2 separate regions of the Homo sapiens genome follow, and region 1 is linked to region 2. The links are contacts of gene promoters, found by promoter capture Hi-C in human tissues and cell types (Jung and others, 2019). All regions are on one chromosome and are shown on one strand. Each heading gives the region's core, a stretch centred on a gene start or on the middle of the fragment in contact. The rest is flanking DNA. Distances are from core to core; before and after follow the strand shown.

Region 1 (5,731 bases), core at 801-3,300, 610 kb before region 2:
CTGGAGGAAACTGACCATATTGAATGTTGTATAATAAAGAATTTTGAAGGGGTGGCCTGCCCCTCCACACCTGCGGGTATTTCTCGTCAGGTGGGACGAGGGACTAAAAAAAGAAATAAGACACAGAGACAAAGTATAGAGAAAGAACACTGGGCCCAGGAGACCAGCGCTCAGCGTACGGAGGACCTGCACTGGCCCCAGTCTCTGAGTTCCCTCAGCATTTACTGATTATTATTTTCACTGTCTCAGCAAGGGGAATGCAGCAGGAGAACAGGGTGATAGCGGGGAGAAGGTCAGCAAGAAAACATGTGAGCAAAGGAATCTGTGTCACAAATAAGTTCAAGGGAAGGTACTATGCCTGGATGTGCACATAGGCCAGATATATGCTTCTCTCCACCCAAACATCTCAGTGTAGTAAAGAATAACACAGCAGTATTGCCACCAGCATATCTCGCCTCCAGCCACAGGGCGGTTTTCTCCTATCTCAGAATAGAACGAATGTACAATCGGGTATTATACTGAGACATTCCGTTCTCAGGGGCATGCAGGAGACAGAGGCCTTCCTCTTATCTCAACCGCAAGAGGCCTTCCTCTTTTACTAATCCTCCTCAGCACAGACCCTTCACGGGTGTCGGGCTGGGGGATGGTCAGGTCTTTCCCGTCCCACGAGGCCATACCTCAGGCTGTCTCAGTGGGGAGAAACCTTGGACAATACCTGGCTTTCCTGGGCAGAGGTCCCTGTGGCTTTCTGCAGTGCATTGTGCCCCTGGTTAATCGAGAATGGAGAATGGCGATGACTTTTACCAAGCATACTGCCTGTAAACATTTTGTTAACAAGGCACATCCTGCACAGCCCTAGATCCCTTAAACCTTGATTCCATACAACACATATTTCCGTGAGCACAAGGTTGGGGCTAAAGTTACATATTAACAGCATCTCAAGGCAAAACAATTGTTCAGGGTACAGATCAAAATGGAGTTTCTTATGTCTTCCTTTTCTATGTAGACACAGTAACAGTCGGATCTCTCTTTTCCCTACATATCCCCCTTTTTGACAAAACTGCCATCGTCGTTATGGCCCGTTCTTGCTGGTCGCTGTCTCTTCGGAGCTGGTGGATACACCTGTGGACTAACAACAGACAGAACAGGCATACAAGGATTAATATGAAATTTACAATAGTGGAACTTCTGATGGTTTTTAACCAAGTGACAGTGTTAAGATTTGTGAGGCCATCAGTAGCTTTCACGATTGCCTCAGTTCCCAAATTTAAATGGGCTTTCGATGCCTCAAAATTTTGTTATTTTAATTTTGAAATATCTAAAGTAAGATTATCTTCTCTTCCCTGTAGATGGCATCTAACCATGTCCCAGTGATGCTCAGACTCATTATAGGCTTGGGGTGTAATACAAAAATCTGACATATTCCAGTCACACTGTAACTGAAAAAGATATTCCAAGCTCATGAGCCTATTTCCCAGCCAAATGACAGTTTGTCTAAGATCATTAATTTCGTTTGCCAATTTTTGATTTATTTGGGTCTGAGAATTCCACAATTTTGAGGAATTCTTTCGCCAATCATTTACATATTCTGCAGTTTGAACAGAGGAGTGTAAAGCAATTCCAGCAGCTGCAGCAGTAGCTGTGACTGCAATAAGGCCCATAATCACTGCAATCAAAGTAAAAATCTTTTGGATCTAGTTAGAATTCCTTTTAATACTTCCGTTAAAATATGGAAGATGGCGAAGCCTCCCACTGTCGGTCCATGGACACAGGGATCCGCACACCTTCTCTTGCCCTCACTAGCAGAATATGGCGCTGCCAATTAAAAGTCAAATCAATGCAAGTAAACAATCTACAGTTTTCACAGGTTATAGTTTGGGAATCTGGTTTAATAACTATGTTTTCTATAACTAGCATATAAGGGGGTTTTACACAACTTTGTAAAGGAATTGTCAGATTGGAATTTAGGTTGATAGTATAATATGGCTTACGATTTCTTGTTTCTGTAGCTTGATTTCCAGACCAAATTCTAATGTAGTGCGAGGCCACAGTAAGCTTCCATAATTTTGGATGTTTAGGACCAGTAACAGGACTAACTAACTTTGGTCGAGGTGATGAAATTCCCTTTTCACCCCATTTCCAGGGATAGGGTGATTCTAGCCTTCTATAAACCTGGTCCAGCCTTTCAATTAAATCACTATCATAGGCCGGATTAATGGGCCAGATGGATGGGGCCTGTAAACATGAGTGAGTCTGGCCCATACAATTATATATAATATAATTGTATATAATATAATATAATATATAACTATTATATAATATTATAGTAGTTCCAAATTCATTGTTTTGTAATACCACCGCAGTATTAGCCACACATTCTTCCCAAACTAAGGCTTCTGGGCTTTTTGATTCTTTGGGAATTTCCTTGGGGCAAGGCTTCCCCTTAGGCCCAGATTTTAATGATCTTTGATAAGAAGCGTCCTCTAAATTATTTATCTGTGGCCCGAGTGACATTCCACTTACCATGTGATAAGTAAATTTACTGGTGGCACTGACGGTAGGTACTTCTACCAACCAGTTTTGGGTTGTAGGCATTAAACATCCTGGTGCCTTCCCTAGGCAAATAGGAGGATAATGATACCCAGTGGAAACATTTATCATCATTCCTTCTTCTTTAGGTTGGGCAGGGCAACAATCGTCTGTGGGGCCTGGTACCCATGCCCTATTATTAACATATACTTCAACAGGATTATCCATCCATGTGACTGCCCAAATTAAGGGTGGGAAAGGCACATAGGCACAGTAAGTATAATTAGTTGCAGCTGCTCCTGCAGACATGGGGAGACTTACTACCGTTGATATAATAATCAAAGCTGTAAGCAGTATATTCTCTGGAGTTCACATTACCCTTGTGTTCTTTAGGCTTTTTTTAGCTAACTGTGTCAGCTTCTTTAATTGGGCCCAAGTCGGTGGCTCCGCTTCCTTGGTGGATGGCAACTTCATCTGTTCTTCTGATATCACCATTTTATTTACCTGGCGAGTCGATGATGCTCAATTGAGGGTTTTTTGTCTCCGCAGAGGCGCTTTTCTTCGCATCTCCAAGGGGTTCATTGTAGAACTTTAAATTTCTAGTGGGTATCCAACCAGGAAGCTGATTTTCTCCTTGTGAAACACAAGCAAAGCCTCTCTCCCATGTTATCACCTTCCCTATTTCCCATGTCTTATTTTTCTTGTCTTTCCACCAAATCAGTTTTCCTTCATGTGGGCTATTCTTTTTACCAGTAAAATGTTGTTCTGCAGAAGTAGTGGTTTGATTTCTATAAATGTTTAAAAAATTTAAAGTATAGAGTGCTAGATTAAGTTGCATCTGGGGAGTGTTATACTCCTTACTGTCTTTTTTCCTTTTTTTGTTTAACCAATTGAGCTTTGAGTGTTCTATCAGTTTTTTCAATTATGGCCTGTCCTTGGGAATTATAAGGGATTCCTGTTGTATGTGTAATTTTCCACTGATTTAAGAATTTTTGAAATGTTTTACTACAGTATCCTGGCCCATTATCCGTTTTAATTTTTTCTGGAACTCCCATGACAGCAAAACAAGATAATAAATGTCTTTTAACATGGGAAGTATTTTCTCCTGTCTGGCAGTTTGCCCTTACAAAATGTGAATAAGCATCAACTGTCACATGGAGAAATGACAATTTTCCAACTGAAGGTACATGTGTGACATCCATTTGCCATAACGCATTAGGACACAGACCTCTGGGATTAACTCCTGCCTCCTGAGTGGGCAGGTGTGGAATCTGACACTGGGTGTAATGTTGTACAATATTTTTTGCCTGTTTCCATGTGATGTCAAATTTATTTTTTAGTCCTGTTGCATTTACATGAGTCAAGGCATGAAGTTCTTGTGCTTCCAGGAATGCAGATGATACTAGCAAGTCAACTTGTTCATTTGCTTTAGTTAAAGGCTCTGGTAAATTAGTATGTGCTCGAATATGAGTAACATAAAATGGGAAATTTCTTTTTCTTACAGTTTGTTGTAACATATTAAACAGCTGGTTTAACTGATCATCTATACTATATTTGATTAGGGCTGTCTCAACATCCTTTGTAGCCTGTACTACATATGCAGAATCTGATACAATGTTAATAGGCTGATTAAAATCTTGTAACACTGTAATGACAGCAACCAACTCTGCTCTTTGAGCCCAGTGATATTGAGTTTCAATGAGTCGTTCTTTTGGCCTGGTGTAAGCCGCTTTTCCATTGCTGGAACCATCAGTAAACACTGTCAGAGCATTTTCTAAAGGTTTATGTCTAGTAATTTTAGGTAAAATCCAAGTAGTCAATTTTAAAAACTGGAAGATTTTTGTTTTTGGGTAATGATTGTCAATAATTCCCACAAAATCAGCAAGACCAATCTGCCATGCACCAGAATTGATAAAGGCTTGTCTAACCTGTTCCTTGTTTAAAGGAACAATGATTTTATCTGAGTCACTTTCACACAATTTTATTATTCGTAATCTTGCCTGACCAATTAATGTAGCCATTTGATCCAAGTACAATGTAAAAGTCTTAATTGTACTATGAGGAAGGAAGAACCACTCCACAAGATCTGTATTTTGAGCAATAATGCCTGTTGGAGAATGTGCAGTAGCAAAAATCAAAAGTTGGAGTGGGGCTAAGTGATCTATTCTATTTACTTGTGCTGACCGAATTTTTTCTTCAACTAATTCAATTTCTTTAGTTGCTTCTGGAGTTAATGTTCTTTTACTATTCAATTCTGGATCCCCTCTTAAGATAGAGAACAAATTTGACATGGCATAAGTAGAGATGCCTAGAGTTGGCTGAATCCAATTAATATCTCCTAGCAATTTTTGAAAGTCATTTAATGTTTTTAATGTGTCTTTTCTTATTTCTATTTTTTATGGTTTAATTTTCGTTTCCTCCACCTGCATTTCCAAGTAATGGAAAGGAGTAGAGGTTTGAATCTTATCAGATGCTGTCGTCAGTCCTGCGTTTGCAACCTCTGTCTGCAGAAATGTGTAACAGTCAATTAATTTGTCTCTCCTTTCTGTAGCACACAAAATATCATCAACATAATGAATGATATAAGAGTCTGAAAACTGTCTCTAATTGGTTGAAGAGCTTGAGCTACAAAAGTCTGGCAAATAGTTGGACCATTAAGCATTCCCTGAGGCAACACTTTCCACTGAAACCTGGTGGCTGGTTCTTTATTATTTATGGCTGGTATAGTAAAAGCAAATTTTTCAAAATCCTGTTTTGCCAGAGGAACGGTAAAAAAGCAATCCTTCAGATCAATTATAACTAAAGGCCGATCTTTGGGGATCATGACCGGAGAGAGCAACCCAGGTTGGAGAGCCCCCATGGGTTGAATTACAGCATTAACGGCTCTTAAGTCGGTCAGCACGCGCCATCTGCCGGATTTTTTCTGAATTACAAACACAGGAGAATTCCAAGGCGAAAATGAAGGCTCAATATGTCCCTTTTCTAATTGTTCCTTTGCTAATAAGTGTAAAGCCTCCAGCTTTTGTTTTGGTAGCAGCCACTGATTCACCCATACAGGTTTTTTTGTTTTCCAAGTTAATGGAATGGGTTTTGGAGGCTCTACAGTGGCCGCTCTTAAAAAGGATACCCTATTCCTTTTCTTTTTTGAGTTTTTTCAGCCTCAATTGGGACTTTAATGCTGTCTTCATTCTTTCCTAGTCCC
Region 2 (6,164 bases), core at 661-3,160:
GCAAGAAACCAGAATAGGGAGGGTTAAGCCCTCCTCCAGCCCTTCCCCACAATCCCTGTGTCTCTGGGGTGTCCCTAGTGGCTGGGCACCACCTTACCCCCACCATAGAGGTCAAGAGCCATTAAGGAGGCCCATGCTTCCTCTGCCTGCCCCAGCCTGGATTCCTGAGTCTCCATGCTGCCCCCCGTCCTGCCCCTTCCTGAGAGGAGTAGAAAGATGTTCTCGCCCACATCATCAGAGCTCTGGGGCCACACCCCCTTCCCTCTGCATTTCGATTTTCATCACTGCCACACTAGCCCAAGCCCTCAACAGGGTCCTGCTCACCAGATTTGGCCCCATCTGGGGGCAGGAGGCCACAGATGAGGTTGATGGCTTCATCACCCAGCATGCAGTCCCCCAGGTCCAGAGCCACGAGGGCAGGGTGGAGGGCCAGGGCTGGGTTCAGCAAGGCCAGCCCCGCATCTGTCAGGGGGCTCCCATGCAGGCTGGAGGAGAGTGAGAGAGCAGGGTTACTGCAGTCCTCCGCACTATCTACATGGGAAAGGGGCACTTTCACTTCTGTCAGCCCTAGGTATGGGGAGGGCAGTCACAGCGCTTGAGAGGCCTGGAAAAGGAGAAGGAAAGTTCTAGATTCTCAGGGAATACAGATAGAGGGAGAATTCGGTTTGTTTTCTGGGGCAGGGATCCAGGACATTGCACAGGGAGGGGCAGAGAAGGGGTGGGTGGGTGGTGGACCGGAACTCTGCAGTGGGCAGGGCTCTCGTCCCCACGGGGATATTCCCCCTTGGGAACCAAGGAGCTGCCCCAGTGAAGTAAATGCAGATGATTAGGTGGGGAGGTACGGCCCCCACCTCATGTCAGGAACTGGTGGGTATCCCAACACGGCTAGGGTCGCGCGTGCAAAGTCCAAGCATGTGCTTGGAGGGTGCTGTGAAGGCATGGGCCGAGGCACGGTGTATGTGCATAAGGCATGTGAAGGTAGGATGGTACTGGAAGGAGTGTGGAGGAACAGGAGGTGCCAGGGGAGTGTATGGAAGGGTGCAGTGCCCGGGACCCCCTTGCGAGGGGGCGCACTCACAAGAGGGACTGGATGGAGCGGTTGGTCCGCAGAGCCTCAGCCAGCTGCTTGATGCGGCTGGGGCTGGACACGACGCCCAGGTTAAGGTTGAGCTGCGCCAGGGACGTGGCCCCGGCCAGGGCCCGGCAGATGCGGCCAAAGTCGCGGTCGCAGAGGCGGCAGCCGCGCAGTGAGAGCAGGCGCACGGCGTTGTCGCGAAGGCCGCGGCAGATGTCCCGCACCTCGGCGCCGGACAGCGGCTCCCCCGAAATCTGGATGGAGCTGGGCAGCATCGTGCCCACGGCTGGGCCTCCGGGTACGGGGCCGGAACGGAGGTTGGTGGGGCCGCGGGCGGGGCCGGGGATAGGGCCGGGGTCGGGGCCCCGGCAGGGGTCGCGGGCGGAGTGGGGCCGGGGGTGGAGGCGGCGGCTGTGGCGGAGGCTGCGGCTGCGGCGGAGGCTGCGGCGGGGGCGGAGAAGAGCTACCGGGACTGAGCCGGAGCCGGCCAGAGGTGCGGAGGCGTCCAGGGCGCGGGCCGGGCTGAAGTGGGGCGGCGCTGGGGCGGGGGCGGCCCGCACGGTCCGTGTCTGGGCGTTGGGGCGGGTGCGCGTTCCGGGGGTTGGGCAGGCGCTGCTCGGCGCTTGTCCTTGTCCCTCGCGGTCGCGGCGGCGGCGGCGGCAGCGGCAGCGAGCGGCTCAAGGGCTTCGGCTTACCGGTCTCGGCTAGGAGGCCGTACCCGCTCCCTCCTTCTCTGCCGCCCGGCTCCCCCCGACCACCCCGCGGGCCTGGCCGCACGGCTGGCAGAGAGAGCCTGAGGCGGGCGGCTGGCGGCAGCTCCGGCTCCAGCTCCAGAGAGCGAGCGGGCGGCGAGTTCCCATGGCAACGGCCGCGTCACCGGCGCTCGCCCCGCCCCCTGCCCGGCCAAGGCCACGCCGGCCCGCGAGGTTCGCGTACACTGGGTGGTTCGGGGCAAGGAGCTGGGAGCGATAGGCCGCTCTTCCCTTGGGAGTGGGGTCAGCCAACTGGCAGGCGGCAGGCGGCAGGGCTGAGTGGGTAGGGCTGACGGGGAGCGGAATGGAGGCACGCCCCGTGGAGATGGCGTTGGGCACGGTTACTGCTGCTTCTGCCCATTCTTCCATCCTTCCCCGTTCCTAAGGTCCATACCCCCGCCGGAATCCAGGGCACTGTTCCCTCCTATTTGGAAGGCCCCAGGGCCCTTTCATCCGCGCCGCGCCTCGCTCCCGCCCCCGTGACTCGAGGCGCAGCGTGCGTGGTGATCCCGGCCCATGGGGACTTCCCCGCTTGCTCCTCGCCAAGATGGCGGCCTCATCAGGGAGGCCCCAGGGGCCACGGCTGGGCAGAGCCAGCTTGAGCTGCTGGGGAGAAGGGTACCCCATAGGGTCCCTAGGGCAGGGGAGCCTCAGATAGATGCAAGGTCCTGGTGCCACACCTTCTCAGGTACGCAGGGCACTGTTGACATCTGAGGGTGTGTCCGTGCCGCGAGACTGGGGCAGCCAATACAAAGAAGGTGCCAGGGCCAGGGCCCTGGAGCACTGGTGAGGACGTGAAGGCGGCTGAGCCACACTGCACGGTGCAGGCGGTGCTGTCTCAACTTTGTCCTCTGGCCAGGGTGGTGGGGGACTCACTTGTGTAACGCAGGACAAATGAAGGGCACCTCTGTTTGTCCCTTTGTTAGGAGGGATAGATGCTGCTGACCCAGATTTACTAGTGTTAAGATGATTATTTTACATAAAATATAATATTCAATATAGTGAAGGGAGGTCAAAGGCCCTATTCCCACTCTTAGCCACCTGAATTAACTTATTAAGTGGAGCATATTAAAGAGGTGGTGGGGGTGGATGGTGCTATGTTAGGAGTGGTGGTTGGTTTTAAGAGGAAAGACAGAAAAACTAAAAGGAGCTGGCCCCAGTACCACCAAGGCAAAGCCAAATTTGGCTTCAATTAAGAGCTCCACAGGAAAATTATCAACACAATGCCCAGGTGCAGAAGATCCTTGTTTTGACACGGGGTTTAAGTCGGGATGTTTTGTTCAATTGTCACTGCTTCCTTGGCTTCCCAAGAGAGCAGCTGAGCCCAGACTCAAGCTGGCTGCAGTGTTCCATCAGGCTTATGGCTTTTGTGCTTGAGGCCTCCCTGCCGCTTCATGGGTCAGGTGTGATATTCAATCACTGCCTTCTATGTAGTCTGGCCTGTCCCACCTTTATCTTGCCTGGGTGAGGATATGAAGAAGGGAACATATGACATTACCACTGTTGACTGAGTAGGAAAGTATATAGGAAGCGGGATGACAGGGAGGACCACTGGATCAGCCGCTGCAGTTCCAGACTTCAATCAACATTTTAATTACCAAGTCTATATTTAGCAAGACAATGTGGGAGAGATAAAGAGGAAGGAAGGGGTAGGTGGGGAGGGGTTCTCAAAGGAGCTGACCCATTTTCTGCATTGGCTGCAGAGCCTTGCAGTCCTGGCCAGGAGTTCTTGGCCTTGTGCCTTTCAGAAGTGCCGACAGGCATCAAGGAGGTACTTACGCAGCTACAGCTCAGTGGCAGCTGCAAACCCCATCTACGAAACATGTCATCAGGACTGTCCTTTAATAGTCTTCCTCCTCTCTGCAGCTGCGGGAAAGAGGACTGGCCAAGAATTTCAGGTGGGGTCAGTGTGACTGCAGGGTCACCGCAACAGCTTTGGCTGTGGCGTTGAGGACGGTGGTGGGAAGCCGAGCAGCAGGGAGCATGGCAGGGATGTCTCTGGGGACCCTCTGGATGGGCGGGATGTTGGGGCCCTCCAGTGTGTCCAGGATCCCTGGAAGGAAGATGGAAGGTGAGCGAGGATCAGATGGGCCCAGCCCACCAGCCATCATATCTAGCTTCTTGCTCTAGGCAGCTGCTTTCCCATTCTCCCCCACCCAGACCTTCCTGCCACTTACCCTCTACCACTTTGTGGTAGGCAAAATGCAGATAGAGCAGGAAGAGCATGTGTAGGGCAGCCAGGGTGCCACAGAGGAGCAGCCGCTGTGTGGGGCCCACGGTCCGAGACACCAACACTGCTACCTAGGACCATGAGAATACAGCTCAAAGGGCCTGGCTCCAAAGTGAGGAGTGGGGACAAGACACCCCCACCCAGGGCAGAACCATCTTTGGGCTCTTCCCTCCCATTTAGGGCTCTTTGTGAGATGGACAGCTCCAGGCTGTCTTCCCCAACTCCCTGGGAGGACAGCCCACCCCTGGAAGCCTCTTGCCCAGCTTACCATGCGCAGTGTGGACAGTCCACCCACCAACAGCCAGAAGAGGTAGAAGAGGGCGTGGAGGTGGATATTATAGGTGATGAACAGGACAATGCAATGCCCAAAGAGGCCATAGCCCTGGGAAGGAGGATGGTGGAGAGGAAAATCATTCAGGTTGGGCTGCTTTCTGGCCCCTCATGGGGACCCTGGGAAACACATGGTCCATTGGCCTACTCCTCCCATTCCAGGCTTTGGGGCCCCAGGACAGATGCCGACCAAGGCCTGGCTACTCTTTTTAACATCACTCTTGCCCACCACACCTGGCTCCTTACCAGCAGTGCCAACATCTGCAGCATGGTGATCTGGGCGTTGCACAGGTAGGCAAGGAAGTAAATGAAGGATGAGACTCCCAGCCAGTAGCCGAAGCAGGTGCCAATGGCTGTGCCCATCAGGGTGCCCTCCCGCTGTGGGGTGAAGGCTCTATTTAGTCCTAGGAGGCCTCTGATCTCAGCCTCACCTAGGGCCTTCCGCAGGGGCTGTTCCTGTCTCACTCCACCATTGTATCCTCAGGCAGCTTTCAACCTAGTGCAGCCACCCCCCCAAAGTTGTCTGTCCTGCTTACGATAATAGTGTCAGACGTCTTCATCCCATGGAGTAGGATAGCAACCAGAGTGAAGACCAGCATGAGAGGTCCATAGAGTTCACCTGCAATTTTCTGTCAATATACCAATTCATTCAGGCTGGAGGGTACAACAGCTCATCTGTTTATGGCTTCCCAGGATTTGCCTGGTGGTCCCACCCTCTGCCCTGGTGCTTCCCCCGGCTCTCCAGACATGCCACCCTCTATTCACCTGGGGGAAGTTGACCATCTTGATAGGGATCATGGACTCCAGGAGCCTGGGAGAGGAGAGGAGAGATTAAAGCAAAGGCAGCACAAGGCCATGAGGTTCTGGAGGGCAAGGCCTGAATTTTATTCATCTCTAACTCCAGGGAATGGGGCCTGGCCTAGAAGACATGTTGGATGACACGGTAGAACAGGGTAGTAAAGACAGATAGGGAATGAGGAAATCATTTCCTTGCCCCTAAAGTTACTTCCAGGAAGGACAACCCTCTGAAACTTAGCTGACTGAAACAGCAGCTATATGGAGAACTCAGCCCTACTGGGCCTTGAAGGAGGGCCCGACCATGTATCCGTCTGCCCCCTCCCCTTGAAAAGACAGGCAGGCTGGGCGCGGTGGCTCACGCCTGTAATCCCAGCACTTTGGGAGGCCGAGGCAGGCAGATCACAAGGTCAGGAGTTTGAGGCCAGCCTGGCCAATATGGTGAAACCCTGTCTCTACGAAAAATACAAAAAATTAGCTGGGCATGGTGGCGGGCGCCTGTAGTCCCAGCTACTCAGGAGGCTGAGGCAGGAGAATTGCCTGAACCCGGGAAGCGGAGGTTGCAGTGAACCGAGATCGCGCCACTGCACTCCAGCCTGGGTGACAGAGTGCGACTCCATCTCAAAACAAAACAAAACAAAGACATGACAAGACAGGCAGACCTCAGCAGAGAGTACCCAGAATTCAGGGTTATAATGAGGAAGCCCTGGGAAAAGTCTAGCCGGCTAGATGGAAAGTTTAGAATGAAAGGTGTTACTGAGGGAATAGTAAAAACGCCTCCTCTTCCTGCTTATCTGTGCCTCCAGGCACTTTCGAGTATTTTCTTGAAAAATATATGTGAAGTGGTATGAAAATTTAGTCACTTCCCTCTTCTCTCAAGTGGCTAGCTCCTAATCATACCTGGGATTTTAGCTAGGTTTTACTTCCTCTGGGAAACTTGTCCTGTCCCACCCACCAACCTGCTTTGGCTCACATATCCCTC

What was found. The method cuts DNA at HindIII sites, captures the fragments that hold promoters and counts their contacts. A contact is called where the count stands out against the background at its distance.
Region 1: a contact is called between a fragment that was not itself captured here and the fragment with the promoter of LRRC73 in region 2, in 1 of the 25 tissues and cell types used here (dorsolateral prefrontal cortex).

The regions. Positions count from the first base shown.
Region 1 is chr6:42,893,627-42,899,357 of GRCh38, forward strand. No RefSeq gene overlaps it. Among named protein-coding and RNA genes, the nearest start is that of PEX39, 5.7 kb to the left of the region's middle. The HindIII fragment of the contact is 6,847 bases long and covers 1-5,474 here.
Region 2 is chr6:43,508,436-43,514,599 of GRCh38, forward strand. LRRC73 (leucine rich repeat containing 73) reads right to left here and starts at 1,911. Exons shown (of 6, transcript NM_001012974.4): 1 at 1,079-1,911; 2 at 325-485. The coding sequence starts at 1,350. YIPF3 (Yip1 domain family member 3) reads right to left here. Exons shown (of 9, transcript NM_015388.4): 4 at 5,153-5,198; 5 at 4,924-5,016; 6 at 4,634-4,765; 7 at 4,326-4,439; 8 at 4,005-4,128; 9 at 3,397-3,880. The coding sequence ends at 3,732. RefSeq lists silencers at 1,489-1,758, 1,779-2,068. The HindIII fragment of the contact is 5,504 bases long and covers 1-2,597 here.